Regions from separate parts of the Homo sapiens genome. Here all the other regions are linked to region 2. Evidence: promoter capture Hi-C in 16 types of primary human blood cells and fetal thymus (Javierre and others, 2016). All regions are on one chromosome and are shown on one strand. The core of a region is centred on a gene start or on the middle of the fragment in contact, and the rest is flanking DNA. Distances in the headings are between cores, read along the strand shown.

What was found. Contacts are between HindIII fragments. The CHiCAGO score rates a contact against its expected background, and 5 or more counts as called.
Region 1: a fragment that was not itself captured here is called in contact with the fragment with the promoter of STC2 in region 2 in 1 of 17 cell types (endothelial precursors); the score reaches 7.9 in endothelial precursors.
Region 3: a fragment that was not itself captured here is called in contact with the fragment with the promoter of STC2 in region 2 in 1 of 17 cell types (endothelial precursors); the score reaches 5.6 in endothelial precursors.

Annotation. Positions count from the first base shown.
Region 1 is chr5:173,582,445-173,586,879 of GRCh38, forward strand. LINC02995 (long intergenic non-protein coding RNA 2995) reads left to right here. Exons shown (of 4, transcript NR_027108.2): 3 at 834-1,464; 4 at 1,666-2,624. Among named protein-coding and RNA genes, the nearest start is that of LINC02995, 5.0 kb to the left of the region's middle. The HindIII fragment of the contact is 7,137 bases long and covers 1-4,435 here.
Region 2 is chr5:173,325,734-173,330,085 of GRCh38, forward strand. STC2 (stanniocalcin 2) reads right to left here and starts at 2,681. Exons shown (of 4, transcript NM_003714.3): 1 at 2,310-2,681; 2 at 135-277. The coding sequence starts at 2,460. LOC124901137 (a long non-coding RNA gene) reads left to right here and starts at 2,866. Exons shown (of 2, transcript XR_007059056.1): 1 at 2,866-4,018. RefSeq lists a silencer at 3,875-4,094. The HindIII fragment of the contact is 3,237 bases long and covers 1,013-4,249 here.
Region 3 is chr5:172,976,869-172,981,315 of GRCh38, forward strand. No RefSeq gene overlaps it. Among named protein-coding and RNA genes, the nearest start is that of ATP6V0E1, 4.7 kb to the right of the region's middle. The HindIII fragment of the contact is 4,602 bases long and covers 513-4,447 here.

The DNA of each region.
Region 1 (4,435 bases), core at 1,771-4,270, 260 kb after region 2:
TGGGTCTGATTCCCACAGATTCTGATGTCATTGGTTTGGTGGCATTGGGGTGAGGGTAGGCTCTGGCATTTTTTAAAGCCCCAGGCAATTCAAATGTGCAGCCAAGGTTGAGGACCACTACTCTAGGGGATCTGCAGTGTGTGCATGTGTGCGTGTGAGTGTGCATGTGCGTGTGTGCGCATGTGCGTGTGTGCACCCACTCGTGTATCCCAGATGCCTTCAGCTTGCATATTCCCAAGTTCACCAGTCTGGGGTCCTTCCCGAGAGCCTCCCAGTCCACATGTTATGGAAAAGCCTTGGGCCCTTTCCAAGATGTTTCTAGATTCCCCCAGGGCTTATATTTTACTGGTCATCCCTGGCTCTGATTTCCTGTTCACACTGAGCACTCCCATCTCATTCCTTTCTTCCCCCGGGACTGTGTTTTCTTTCTGCCTGTCAACTTAATGCTGGTCTTTCAATGACCACCAGCAGCTCACAGCTGTCAAGTTTAGCAGATGTTTCCTGCAGGTCTGCAGTTAACAAGAGGTGTCATCCCCAAAGTAAATGATTCTACACTGAAGTCCCCATCTGGGCGGGGAACTCCTGCTAGGAGGAATTTATCACTGGCCATTTCCTCCTCCAATTCCCTCTGCCTCATTTTTACTTCTAGGCCCTCTCATTCTCTTTCAGAAATCACTTTGTCCCCTCCCAAAAAAACAAAGAAACAAAAACAGAAACAAACCCTTCTTCCTCTAGCAGTCAGCATGCAGCTGCTGATCAAGTTCCAAATTGCAGTTCCTTTCTTAATCAGAACAACTCAACTCATTTTTCCTATACCTCTCCTATGTGTCCAGGTATTTCCGAGAGTGATGCATGCTCCTTGGGAAGCATTGGGAATTCTGCACTTCTGGGCCAGCCAGCTCCAACTGCAGCCAATGTTTAAAAAATAGCATCTCTCCCTTCCTTCTATATGTACAGATCTTCAGGGATTTAGCAAATTCTCTTAAATAGCTAGAAGACCTTGCTGACTTCGATGCAAATATTCTGGCCAGAGAACTGAGGTCCTTGGATGAAACCCAATAATCAGAGGGGTCACAGTTTCCTTAGCCCAGGAGGAAGGCAGCTGGTGTCTCAGCAGATGTTCCTAAAGGCCTGGCTTTTTCCACATCTGTTCTGTGTGGTAGACAAGGAGAAGAGGAAGGGAGGAAGGGAACAGAGAGGAAGCAGAGAGAGCTGAAGATTAAAACAATACTGTACAGGTCCCCGCTAAAGATGGACTCTCTGGCTGCCAGGAAAGGACTGAGAGATAAATAGGAGGAGCATAAGAACCTGGGAGCTGGAGGCTGGTCCACCTCCCTCAGCTTCCAGGACCCAGAGGGAGGCAGGCACAGCCAGCCTTGGCCCTGTGGAACCAACACCTTCCAGCCAGGCTGCCAGGAAGCCAAATTCCAAATGTCTAAACTGTATTTTGCACTTTTCCACAAGGTGACCTGCAGCTGCTCTGATGGCCCCTAGGATTCTGTAGGGTACTGTGCAGTCCAGAAAACTTGACTTCCCAATTCTTCCCACTTAGCCAGCTGCCATTTCCTTCCCTCCTAACCACTTTCCTTCCTATTCTTTTCCCTCTGTATTTTCCCCCTTTGTTTTAAAAGTTCAACATGAAACTTTACTCTGTACACTCATCAGGTCAGCAAAAATTAGAAAGTCAGCTAATGCCAAGTGTTAGCTGGAGTAGGGGGGGAAGAGGAACCCTTGTTCTCTGCAAGGGAGTATGAGAAGGTGCAGCCACTCCGGAGGCTGTCTGATGGTGCTGGTTCAAGTCGACTGCGTAAGTCTTCTGCCCACAGCAATGCCACTCCTCGGTATGCGGCGCAGAGACACTTTTTGTCCAAAAGGGGCATGTGGGGAGGTGCTCATTCAGCATTGTTTCTGGCAGGGGCGTTGGCCACTCAGGCACCCATCCCTGGGGAAGACAGAAGTAAATGTGGTGGGTGTACACCTTGGAGAAGCATCTATCAGTCAGAAGCAAGGAAGGGGATGTCCACACAGATTTAGGTAGCTTACGTTAGACACTATGTTCAAATTCAAGGACGCACATCAGATACACAGAAAGGCTGCCTGTGGGGGAATTCGGACTGCAAGTGGAGAATGGGGACTGTAGTGGATTGAAGATGGTCCCAAATTCCTTGTCACTCCCTGCATGGAGAGGTGAGGTGGGGTGCCCTGGGCAGGCTTGTGACTACTTGACCAACAGAATACAGCAGAAGTGGTGCTTGTCAGTTTCCAGGCCTGGGCTTTTTAGAGGGTGGCAGTTCACTTCACCTCTCTTAGGACACTCTCTGGGAGCTTGAAGCTGCCATGTAATCAACTGCCCTAATACCACCAGGTTGCTGAAACCATGTTCAGGAGCTCTGTTTGTGGTCCTAGCTGAGCCCAGCCTTGCAGCCAGCCCCCACCAGCCAATGTCACCAGACATGTAAGTGAAGCCATCCTGGGATCTCTAGACCAGCCCAGCACACCTACAGGCTGATTACCATGGAGTGACCTCCGTTGGCACCACATTCATCAAGAGAATCAACCAGCTGAGTCCTGCAAATCCAAATCCACACAACTGTAATATGATAAAGTATCTAACTTTGGGGGTATATATTAGCCTGTTTTCATGCTGCTGATAAAGGCATACCTGAGACTGGGAAGAAAAAGAGGTTTAATGGACTTATAGTCCACATGGCTGGGGAGGTCACACAATCATGGTGGAAGGTGGGGAGGAGCAAGTCACATCTTACAAGGATGACAGCAGGCAAAGAGAGAGCTTGTGCAGGGGAACTCCTCTTTATAAAACCATCAGATCTCATGAGACTTACTCACTATCATGAGAACAGCACAAGAAAGACCCACCCCCATGATTCAATTCACTCCCACTGGGTCCCTCCCATGACATGTGGGAATTGTGGGAATTACAATTCAAGATGAGAGTTGGGTGGGGACACAGCCAAACCATATCATTCTGCCCCTGGACCTTCCCAAATCTCATGTCCTCACATTTCAAAACCAATCATGCCATCCCAACAGGCCCCCAAAGTCTTAACTCATTTCAGCATTAACTCAAAAGTCCACAGTCCAAAGTCTCATCTGAGAAAAGGCAAGTCCCTTCCACCTATAAGCCTGTAAAATAAAAAAAAAAAATTAGTTACTTCCTAGCTACAATGGGGGTACAGGCATTGAGTAAATACAGCCATTTCAAATGGGAGAAATTGGCCAAAACAAAGGGGCTACAGACTCCATGCAAGTCTGAAATCCAGTGGGGCAGTCAAATCCTACAGTTCCAAAATGATCTCCTTTGACTTCATGTCTCACATCCAGGTCATGCTGATGCAAGAGGTGGGTTCCCATGGTCTTGGGCAGCTTTGCTTCTGTGGCTTTGCAGGGTATAGCCTCCCTCCTGGCTGCTTTCATGGGCTGTTGAGTGCCTGCAGCCTTTCCAGGAGTATGGTGCAAGGTGTTGGTAGATCTACCATTCTGGGGTCTGGAGGACAATGGCCCTCTTCTCACAACTCCATTAGGCAGAGCCCCAGTAGGGACTCTGTGTGGGGGCTCTGACCCCACATTTCCCTTCTGCACTGCTGTAGCAGAGGTGCTCCATAAGAGCCCCGCCCCTTCAGCAAACTTCTACCTGGACATCCATGCATTTCCATGCATCCCCTGAAATCTAGGCAGAGGTTCCCAAACCTCAATTCTTGACTTCTGTGCACCTACAGGCACAACACCACATAGAAGCTGCCAAGGCTTGGGGCTTCCACCCTCTGAAGCAACAGGCTGAGCTGTACCTTGGCCCTTTTAGTCATGGCTGGAGCAGCTGGGACACAGGGCATCAAGTCCCTAGACTGCACACAGCAGAGGGACCCTGGACCTGGCCCACAAAACCATTTTTTCCTCTTAAACCTCTGGGCCTGTGATGAGAAGGGCTGCCACAAAGGTCTCTGACATGACCTAGAAATATTTTCCTCATTGTCTTGGCGATTAACATTCGGGTCCTCATTCGTTACTTATGCAAATAAATTTCTGCAGCCAACTTTAATTTCTCCTCAAAAAATGGGATTTTATTTTATATTGCATTGTCAGGCTGTAAATTTTCCAAACTTTTATGCTCTGTTTCCCTTTTAAAACTGAATGCCTTTAACAGCACCCAAGTCACCTCTTGAATGCTTTGCTGCTTAGAAGTTTCTTCTGCCAGATACCCTAAATCATCTCTCTCAAGTTCAAAGTTCCACAAATCTCTAGGGTAGGGGCAAAATGCCACCAGTCTCTTTGCTAAAACATAACAAGAATCACCTTTGCTCCAGTTCCCAATAAGTTCCTGATCTCCATCTGAGACCACCTCAGCCTGGATTTATTGTCCATATCATTATTAGCATTTTGGTCGAAGCCATTCAACAAGTCTCTAGGAAGTTCCAAA
Region 2 (4,352 bases), core at 1,431-3,930:
TAGACTGTCGCTTGCAAGCACTAAAACACACCACAAGGAACAGCAAAGGAAGTTGGTTAACAAGGCTTTCCAATGAACGTTTCAATCATGTATGCTCACCCCAAACATTCTTCATGCTCTGGATGGATTTTTACCTGGGCATCAAATTTTCCAGCGTTGTGCAGAAAAGTCATGCAAATCCCATGTAAGCCCCGAATCTCACAAGAGTTGTTCTCGAAACATTCAAACACGCCACACCCCACATCGCCAGCGTTGACCAAACAGTGCTGGATCTCCGCTAAAAGGAAAATCACATACAAATATATACAAAACTCTAACCCATGCTGGGCAATGCAGAGAGGTCATTTGAAATAAAAGTTAACAACTAAAGGAAAATTTAAGGAGGAAAAAAGACTTAGTAATGACTATTTCAGGACCTAAAAAGCCTGGGAAACAAAATTTCGTCCTTTAATCTACTCATGAAAAATATCTCTATTTGTAAATATTTGTAGAAAAGAGCCGAAAAATTACAAAAATTACAACCAGAAGGCTGGTCTGAGCATTCCTCCTTTTCATCCTTTCCATTTTATTAAAGTATTTGTGGGAATACTTAGTTTGAGAGCAAAATATATTTCCGCTTTTTAAACCCACAGACAAAAATAAAATTTTGAGTCGAAGACTGTACTTCATCAATGAAGTACCCTTCTCTACTTGATCTGTAGAAGTTGCTGCTATTAAATCACAGCCATTTGCTTCCTGACCCCCAAATGACAGCATCTAAAAAGCAGTTTCAATTCAGCTTTATGATTCAACACCTAAAAATCAAAACAAAATTCCTATTAAGGCAGTGCCTCCCAACCCTTCGCATTAAAATACCAGCTAGGGAAGCTGCGGTTGGCGAGCAGGCTTAGGAGTGGAGTCAGCTGGGGGCGAGCCTTCAGAAACGCCACTATCAGAGGTTGCAGGCTCCTTTTAATTAGGGATCCGGGTGAGGTATCACCCAATCCCCTAGAATTCCCGCAGCCCGGGAGGAAGCTTGCAGCCCTTCACCGAATGTGGCCCCCAGTCCTCTCTCGGAAGGGGCAGACGGAGGGAGTTAACTGTCAGGCTGCAGCGTGCAAAGCCTCTTCCCTCCCTTTCCACTACCCAAGTCTCTGATTTAAATCAACCACAAAATTACATCAGAAAAGTATATTTTGGAAGAAGGGCGGGGTCGGAGCAGATAACCCGCATCAGATTAAATCTAGCCAGAGAATGAGGGGCGTGTATTGTTGAGGGTCACCGACCACCGAGAATCAGGTTCAGTTCTCAGAGGAAGCGCCAGAGGAGGGGGAGGGTGGGCGAGGGTCTCGGGGTGGTGGGGGTGCCGGCCCCAGCATGTGGAGGCGACAGGATCCGTAAGACCCCACGCGCCGCCGGGGCAGGACCGCACAGGGCCGCCATTCACTCACTTGGGGCGTCCCTAATGGGCACTCGTGCATTCCAGCTCGTGCGGTGAGCGCACGCACGCCGCCGCTGCCGCGTTCACACGGCCCCCCAAAGTCGGGGGAGGGGTCGTGGAGCGAAGGAGCTGTAGGCAGATTTTCTTTCTCTTTCCGAGCTGGGAAAAGGGCCAGCCCCGTGCCCTGCACGCCTGGCTCTGCTTTGCAGCTTGCCGGTGAGCCAAGAGCCGGTAGAGCAGAGGAGGCGCACGGTTCGGGTCGTGTCACCATTTCTTGGCTTGCTGACCTGGCCAGGAGCTGGGGATGGCGGCAGCACCGCGGAGGTACGCTTTGCGCTGCCCTCACGCTCCCTTCCGAAAGCAGTGCCCCCAGGGGGAAAGTTCGCAATGCCATTTGTCTCGCCGGCAAAGTTCTGGGATGTCGGGCATCTTTTGAGGAGGGGGAAGACGCGGCACCCTTACTGAGGCCGGCAGGCCAGGAAGAGAAGTTCTCCGGGCGCAGGGCGCAGCCCAGCTCCGGGGACCCTCTGGGCCTCCCGCGTGCCGGCCGGGATGAAGCGCGCTTTGCACCGGACCCGGGATTCGGGGGCGGGGGCTGGCGCTGGCAGCGTCAGACGCTGCTTCATTTCCCCTCGACCCTGGGGAGGACAGCAACAAGTCCTGCCCCAGCCATTTCATCACCCTGCTAGCACGTGCAGATTCCGGGCCCTCGGAGCCCGGCGCGGACCTCGCCTTGCCTCGCGCTTCCCTTTGCACGTCCCGTGCCATCCCAAGAGTTTGCGTGGCCCTGGGTGGGCGCCTGGCTCCCGGCGAAACGCCTGGGGCGCGCCGCGTGGGTGCACGGTGTCCTCTCCCAGTAGCTCCCGGCTGCGGGGGCACATGCACTTACCTGTATTCTGCAGGGACAGGCGGCCTTTCTGCTGGGAGCTCCTGTCTTGGGGACCCTCGGGTGGGTTGGTGGCGTCGGTCCCCCGCGCCGGGTCAAAGGTGGCCAACACCAAAGCCAGGGTCATGAACTGGCCCAGCCGCTCGGCACACATGGTTCTTGGTATTAACCTCCCGTCGGGAGACCTGGATCCTTTGTGCTCCCCTCTTCCTCCTCCTCCTCTTCCTCCTTCGCCGCTTCCCCTCCTCCTCCCACTCTTCCTTTTTGCTCGCCTTTTCCCTCCTCCTCGCGGCCGCGGCTCGGATAGAGGTTACCCAGCGCCCTCCCGTAGCTCTCCGGAGAGCATGTGACCAGGCCGTTAGCAGCGCCGCGAGTGCCCGGCAATGGCAGGGATGGTGCCTCAAATATCCCTGGAAGCTCTGGTGTCACTTGAATGAAGGAGTCGAGCAGGTGTTGTCCCGGCGGCTGGACCAATCCGAGACCCCGGCCCTTTTGACAACACGGCCGGGAGGCGGGGCCTGCGCTCAACTACTACAGGAGGAAGCCGAGCGCCGCTGGGAGCGCCGGACAAAGTTGCCGACCTGGCGGCGGCCACGCGTTTGCGTGCGTGTGTATGAGTGTGTGTGAGCGCGGCCGGAGATGCGTGCGCGTGTGCGGGTGCTCCAGGGCAATGGTCGAAAGGACTGTACAATATAAGAGCGAATCCAAGCTCCAGTTGCTGTTAAAGGGGGACGGTGTGCTCTGGGACAGTGTCCCTGGGGCCCCTGGCTCGCGTCACACCCACATCGGGTTGGGAAAGTTTCCTCTTTCCGCCGTTTGGAATTCAGTGAGATTCCCAGCCCAGAGGACTTGATAAATTGAAGCAGTTTCCTAGGCACAATGATGCTGTGGGCCAACTGAGCACACATGGGAATTCCTGGCCTTGTGACACTTTGCATTAAAAAGAACCCCACGATTGAAGATAGGAGCAGAAGCACTAGATACAGTATTTGGTCTGAGCAACTGCCCTATCTTCCCGCTTTGGTGGGCCGTGCAACACCTGGAGTGTCGTTTCTCGTCTTTCCCCTAATCCAGACGCATTCCAGGCTGGGCTGCAGGGATCCAGGTGACAGTCAGGACTTGCATCATTTCCAGGAGGGTGGCAGGGAGGCCCAAGGCAGCCCTGAGTCAGCCCGCCGCGGAGCATCGCGTGCCCGGAGGCCAGAGCTTGAAAGGCAACTTTACGCGTCTCCAAACACACTCCTGCATTTTCTCAAAGCGCTGCTCGCCACCCCGCTCCGGGTTCCCTTTTACTCTCCAGTCATCCGATGGAAGTGGTGAGAACAAAAACAAAGACAAAAAAGCTAAATCCGGGGAAGTTATCTCCATCTCCTCCCTTTTCTTGTTCGGCCCCCTCCCCAAGAACCGCCGGGTCGGGATAGCCCCCGGCTACTTTCTCACCCGGCCCGTGGAGGGAAGGAGAAAGTTGGGCGCCGCTTGGAGCGCCTCTTCCCCTGCTGTGTGTGTACGTGTGCACGCTCACGTCTCCCCCGCGCCGGGGCCGGGGACAGGAACTGCTCTCGGTCCCGTCACCCCACGGCGCAGCTCGGGGGGCTCGCAGGGCTGGGGGAGGGCGGGGACACGAGCGCCGCGCCCAAGCGCCCCAGGGCACGCACCCGGCGTTGGCGCGCACTCGCCCCTCCCCCCGTCCCCACCCTCCTCCTGGAGAACAGGTGAGCCCCGGTACCAGCTCTCGATCCCCCACCCCCGCCCCGCGCCCCGCCCGCGCCCTCTGCGGTAATGCGCCTGGGAAGTTTCATCACCCACTGCCCAGGCGACGCGGCCCTGGGTCTCCGCGGCGGGGCGCACTGCCCGCCTGGTTGGGGCCGCCATGTGACACGGCTGGGGGAGGGGGCGAGGAGACACGCGGGCAGGTCATCTTTTGGCCGGCGCTTGACTTCCAAAGCTTTCCTTTCCCGTGTCCCGGCTGCACGCGGGAGTGGGGAAGGCGGAGGCGGGGGGCCAGGATGGCCACGGCTGGCCGCAGCTATCCGGCGTGTCGAGCTC
Region 3 (4,447 bases), core at 1,564-4,063, 350 kb before region 2:
TTGGGAGGCCGAGGCAGGTGAATCACCTGATGTCAAGAGTTTGAGACCAACCTGGCCAACATGGTGAAACCCTGTCTCTACTAAAAATACAAAACTAGCCAGTTGTGGTGGCGGGCACCTGTAATCCCAGTTACTCAGGAGGCTGAGACAGGAGAATCGCTTGAACCCAGGAGGTGAAGCCTGCAGTGAGCCAAGATCGCGCCACTGCACTCCAACCTGGGTGAGACAGAGCAAGACTCTGTCTCAAAAATAAATAAATAAATAAATAAACCAAATCTAAGCCTTTTAAAATTATGTACAATAGATTTAAAAATACCTATATTCAGTGTCGTGAGCATTAAATGAGACAGATAATTCAAAGCACCTAGTCCAATGTCTGGCAGGTGGCAATCACTCCAGCAACGGTGGCAGCAGTAGTACTGGTGGCCATACACAGTGCACATTCCATATACACTACTGGGCTAAGGAGTAATAAATCCTGCTAGGGTTTTCAGCTGCCCCAGTAACTTCCAAGCTTCCAGAGTAGCTTGGAAAGGGGCTTTATGACACCATATCTTCGTGACTCTGCATGCCTGTTTTTACCTACAGGACTGAGTTTAGGAAAGAAGGGCTCCTCAGCTCGTTGCACAATAGTGTTTCAGTCAACTCTTGTTTCCTTGATGCTGCTGGGGGGCCTCTGAGGTTTTTCCTCTAGTGGTGCTTCTCAAACTTTTTGGTCTCAAGACCTGTTTACATATTTAAAAACTATGGAGGACCCAAGGGACTTACATTTATATAGGTTATAGCTATTGATATTTGTCATGTTAGAAATTAAAACTTCAAATTTTAACATATTAATTTTATTATATTATTATTATTATTATTTGAGACAAGATCTCAGTCTTCACCCAGGCTGTAGTGCAATGGTGCAATTATAGCTCACTGTAACCTTGAACTTGTGGGTTCAAGCAATCCTCCCTCTTCAGCCTCCTAAGTAGCTAGGACTACAGGAGATAACACCACATCAAAATTGTTTCTTGTAGAGATGGAGGTCTCACTATGTTGCCGAGGCTGCTCTGGAACTCCTGGCCTCAAGTGATCCTCCTGCTTTAGCCTCCCAAAGCACTGGGATTATAGGCGCGAGTCACTGCATCTGGCCAACATATTTATTTTAAATTCATACAAAAAGAGCAACAAGAAACCCATAACATGTTAACATAACATTTATATGAGAAATAGCTGTTTTTTCCAAAACTAACAAAACATGTGGTTGGAAGAGTAACATTGTGTTACATTTTGGGAGAACGCCTTGACCTCTGGTTTAATAGAAGACAAATGCATTCTCATAATACTACTGCATTCAATCTGATGTGATATGTTGTTTTAGATGAACTACAGGAAGAAAATTCAGCCTTACAGAGATTCACAGTTAGAAAAGACCTGCTGGGGTGGCCAGGCATGGTGGCTCATGCCTGTAATCCCAGCACTTTGGGAAGCCAAGGTGGGTGGATCACGAGGTTAGGAGTTTGAGACCAGCCTGGCCAAGATGGTAAAACCCCACCTCCACTACAAATACAAAAATTAGCTGGGAGCAGTGGCAGTCGCCTGTAATCCCAGTTACATGGGAGGCTGAGGCAGGAGAATTGCTTGAACCCAGGAAATGGAGGTTGCAATGAGCCGAGATCACGCCACTGCACTCTAGCCTGGGTGACAGAGTAAGACTCCATCTGAAAGAAAGAAAGAAAGAAAGAAAGAAAGAAAGAAAGAAAGAAAGAAAGAAAGAAAGAAAGAAAGAAAGAAAGGAAAGAAAGGAAAGAAAGGAAAGAAAAGAAAGAAAAGAAAGAAAAGAAAGAAAAGAAAGAAAAGAAAGAAAAGAAAGAAAAGAAAGAAAGAAAGAAAAAGACCTGCTTGGGGAGTCTCAGGGACTCCCCAAGGGTCCTTGGACCACACTGTCCAGAGTCTGATTTGTTTCCTGAAGACTTTAGCACCTTGAGGGCAGACAGTATCTCTTCATTTGATGGGTCACTGAATGGGGACAGTTTTCATTTGGTGTGTGATAAAATGCTTTTGACAGACTGGCTGATAGAGGGAGCTATAGGCTAATGCTAGCCCACATATATAATACTGAGATACTAACTTTTCTCCTTTCACAGATGAAACCAACAGATTTAGACAGAATTGGTGTCTAAAGAGTTACATCCAGCCGGGCGCGGTGGCTCACGCCTGTAATCCCAGCACTTTGGGAGGCCGAGGCGGGCGGATCACAAGGTCAGGAAATCGAGACCATCCTGGCTAACACGGTGAAACCCCGTCTCTACTAAAAATACAAAAAATTAGCCGGGCGTGGTGGTGGCTGCCTGTAGTCCCAGCTACTCGGGAGGCTGAGGCAGGAGAATGGCATGAACCCGGGAGGCAGAGGTTGCAGTGAGCCGAGATCACGCCACTGCACTCCAGCCTGGGAGACAGAGCGAGACTCCATCTCAAAAAACAACAACAACAACAACAGAGTTACATCCCTGGCCGGGTGCGGTGGCTGACCCCTGTAATCCCAGCACTTTGGGAAGCCGAGGCAGGTGGATCACCTGAGGTCAGGAGTTCGAGACCAGCCTGGCCAACATGGCAAAACCCCATCTCTACTAAAAAATAAAAATAAAAATAAAAATTAGCTGGGCATGTAGCACGTGCCTGTAATCCCAGCTACTCAGAAGGCTGAGGCAGAAGAATCACTTGAACTCAGGAGGCGGAGGTTGCAGTGAGCTGGGATCGTGCCATTGCACTCCAGCTTGGGCAACAAGAGCAAAACTCTGTCTCAAAAAAAAAGGAAAAAAAAAAAAAAGAGTTACATCCTTGTACTTCCAGACATTGCTTCTCAAAGAGGCTGCCCAGAAGATAAAGCAAAGGTTAGACACAAAAAGGGATCAATTTAAGACAAAAATTTCCACTTGTTTAAGAAATGGGAAAGAATTCACAATAGCCAAAAAGTGCAAGCAACCCAAATGTCCATCGATGGATGAATGGATAAACAAAACGTACTGTATACACACATGGAATATTATTCAGCCTTTAAAAGGAAGGGGACATTCTGACACTTGCACAACATGGATGAGTCTTGAGGATATTATGTTAAGTGAATAAGCCAGCCACAAAAGGACAAATGCCGTATGATTCCTCTTGAAGGAATCTAGAGTAGTCAAACTCACAGAGACAGAAAGTAGAATGGTGCTTGCCATGGGCTAGGGGGTGGAATATGGGAGGTGGTTGTTTTTTTGTTTGTTTGTTTTTTGAGACAGAGTCTTGCTTTATCACCAGGCTGGAGTGCAGTGGCGTGATCACAGCTTACTGCAGCCTTTACCTCCTGGGCTCAAGCAATCCTCCCACCTCACCCTCCGCAGCAGCTGGAACTACAGGCATGCACCATCATGCCCAGCTAATTTTTTGTTTAAATTTTTTGTAGAGATGGGGGTCTCACTACTGCACCTGGCCAGAAGTGGTTGTTGAAGGGATATGAAAAAGTTCTGGGCTGGGTGCAGTGGCTCACGCCTGTAATCCCAGCACTTTGGGATGCCAAGGCGGGCAAATCTCCTGAGGTCAGGAGTTTGAGACCAGCCTGGGCAACATGGTAAAACCCCGTCTCCAACTAAAAATACAAAAATTAGCTGGGTGTGGTGGTGCATGCTTGTAGTCCCAGCTACTTGGGAGGCTGAGGCAGGAGAATCGTTTGAACCCAGGAGGCGAAGGTTGCAGTGAGCCAAGACCACACCAACCTGGATGACAGCGAGACCCTGTCTCTAAATAAATTAATAAAAATAAATTAAAAGGTTAAGATAGTAACTTTTATGTTACCTGTATTTTACCATTTTTAAAAGGAAAGGGCCTGACTGCGGCAGCTCATACCTGTAATCCTAGCATTTTGGGAGGCCAAGGCAGGAGGATTCCTTGAGGCCGGAGTTCGAGACCAGCCTGGGCAACATGGTGAAACCCCATCTCTACACACACATACACACACACACACACACACACATACACAAGCACACACACGCACACACACAATTAGGCCAGCATAGTGGCATGCGCCTGTAGTCCTAGCTACTATGGAGGCCGAGGTGGGAAGATCCCTTGAGCCCAGGAGTTCAAGGCAGTAGTAAGCTATGATTGTACCACCATATGCCAGCCTGGGTGACAGAGCACGACTCTGCCTCAAAAAAAAGAAAGAAAGGGGCTGGGCATGGTGGCTCACTCCTATTATCCCAGCACTTTGGGAGGCCGAGGTGGGCGGATCACTTGAGGTCAGGAGTTTGAGACCAGCCTGGCCAACATGGTGAAACCCCATCTCTCCTAAAAATACAAAAAAAAAAAAATAGCCTGGTGTGGTGGAGGGCGCTGGTAAATCCCAGCTACTCAGGAGGCTGCAGCAGGAGAATCGCTTGAACCAGGGAGGTGGAGGTTGCAGCGAGCCATTGTCATGCTA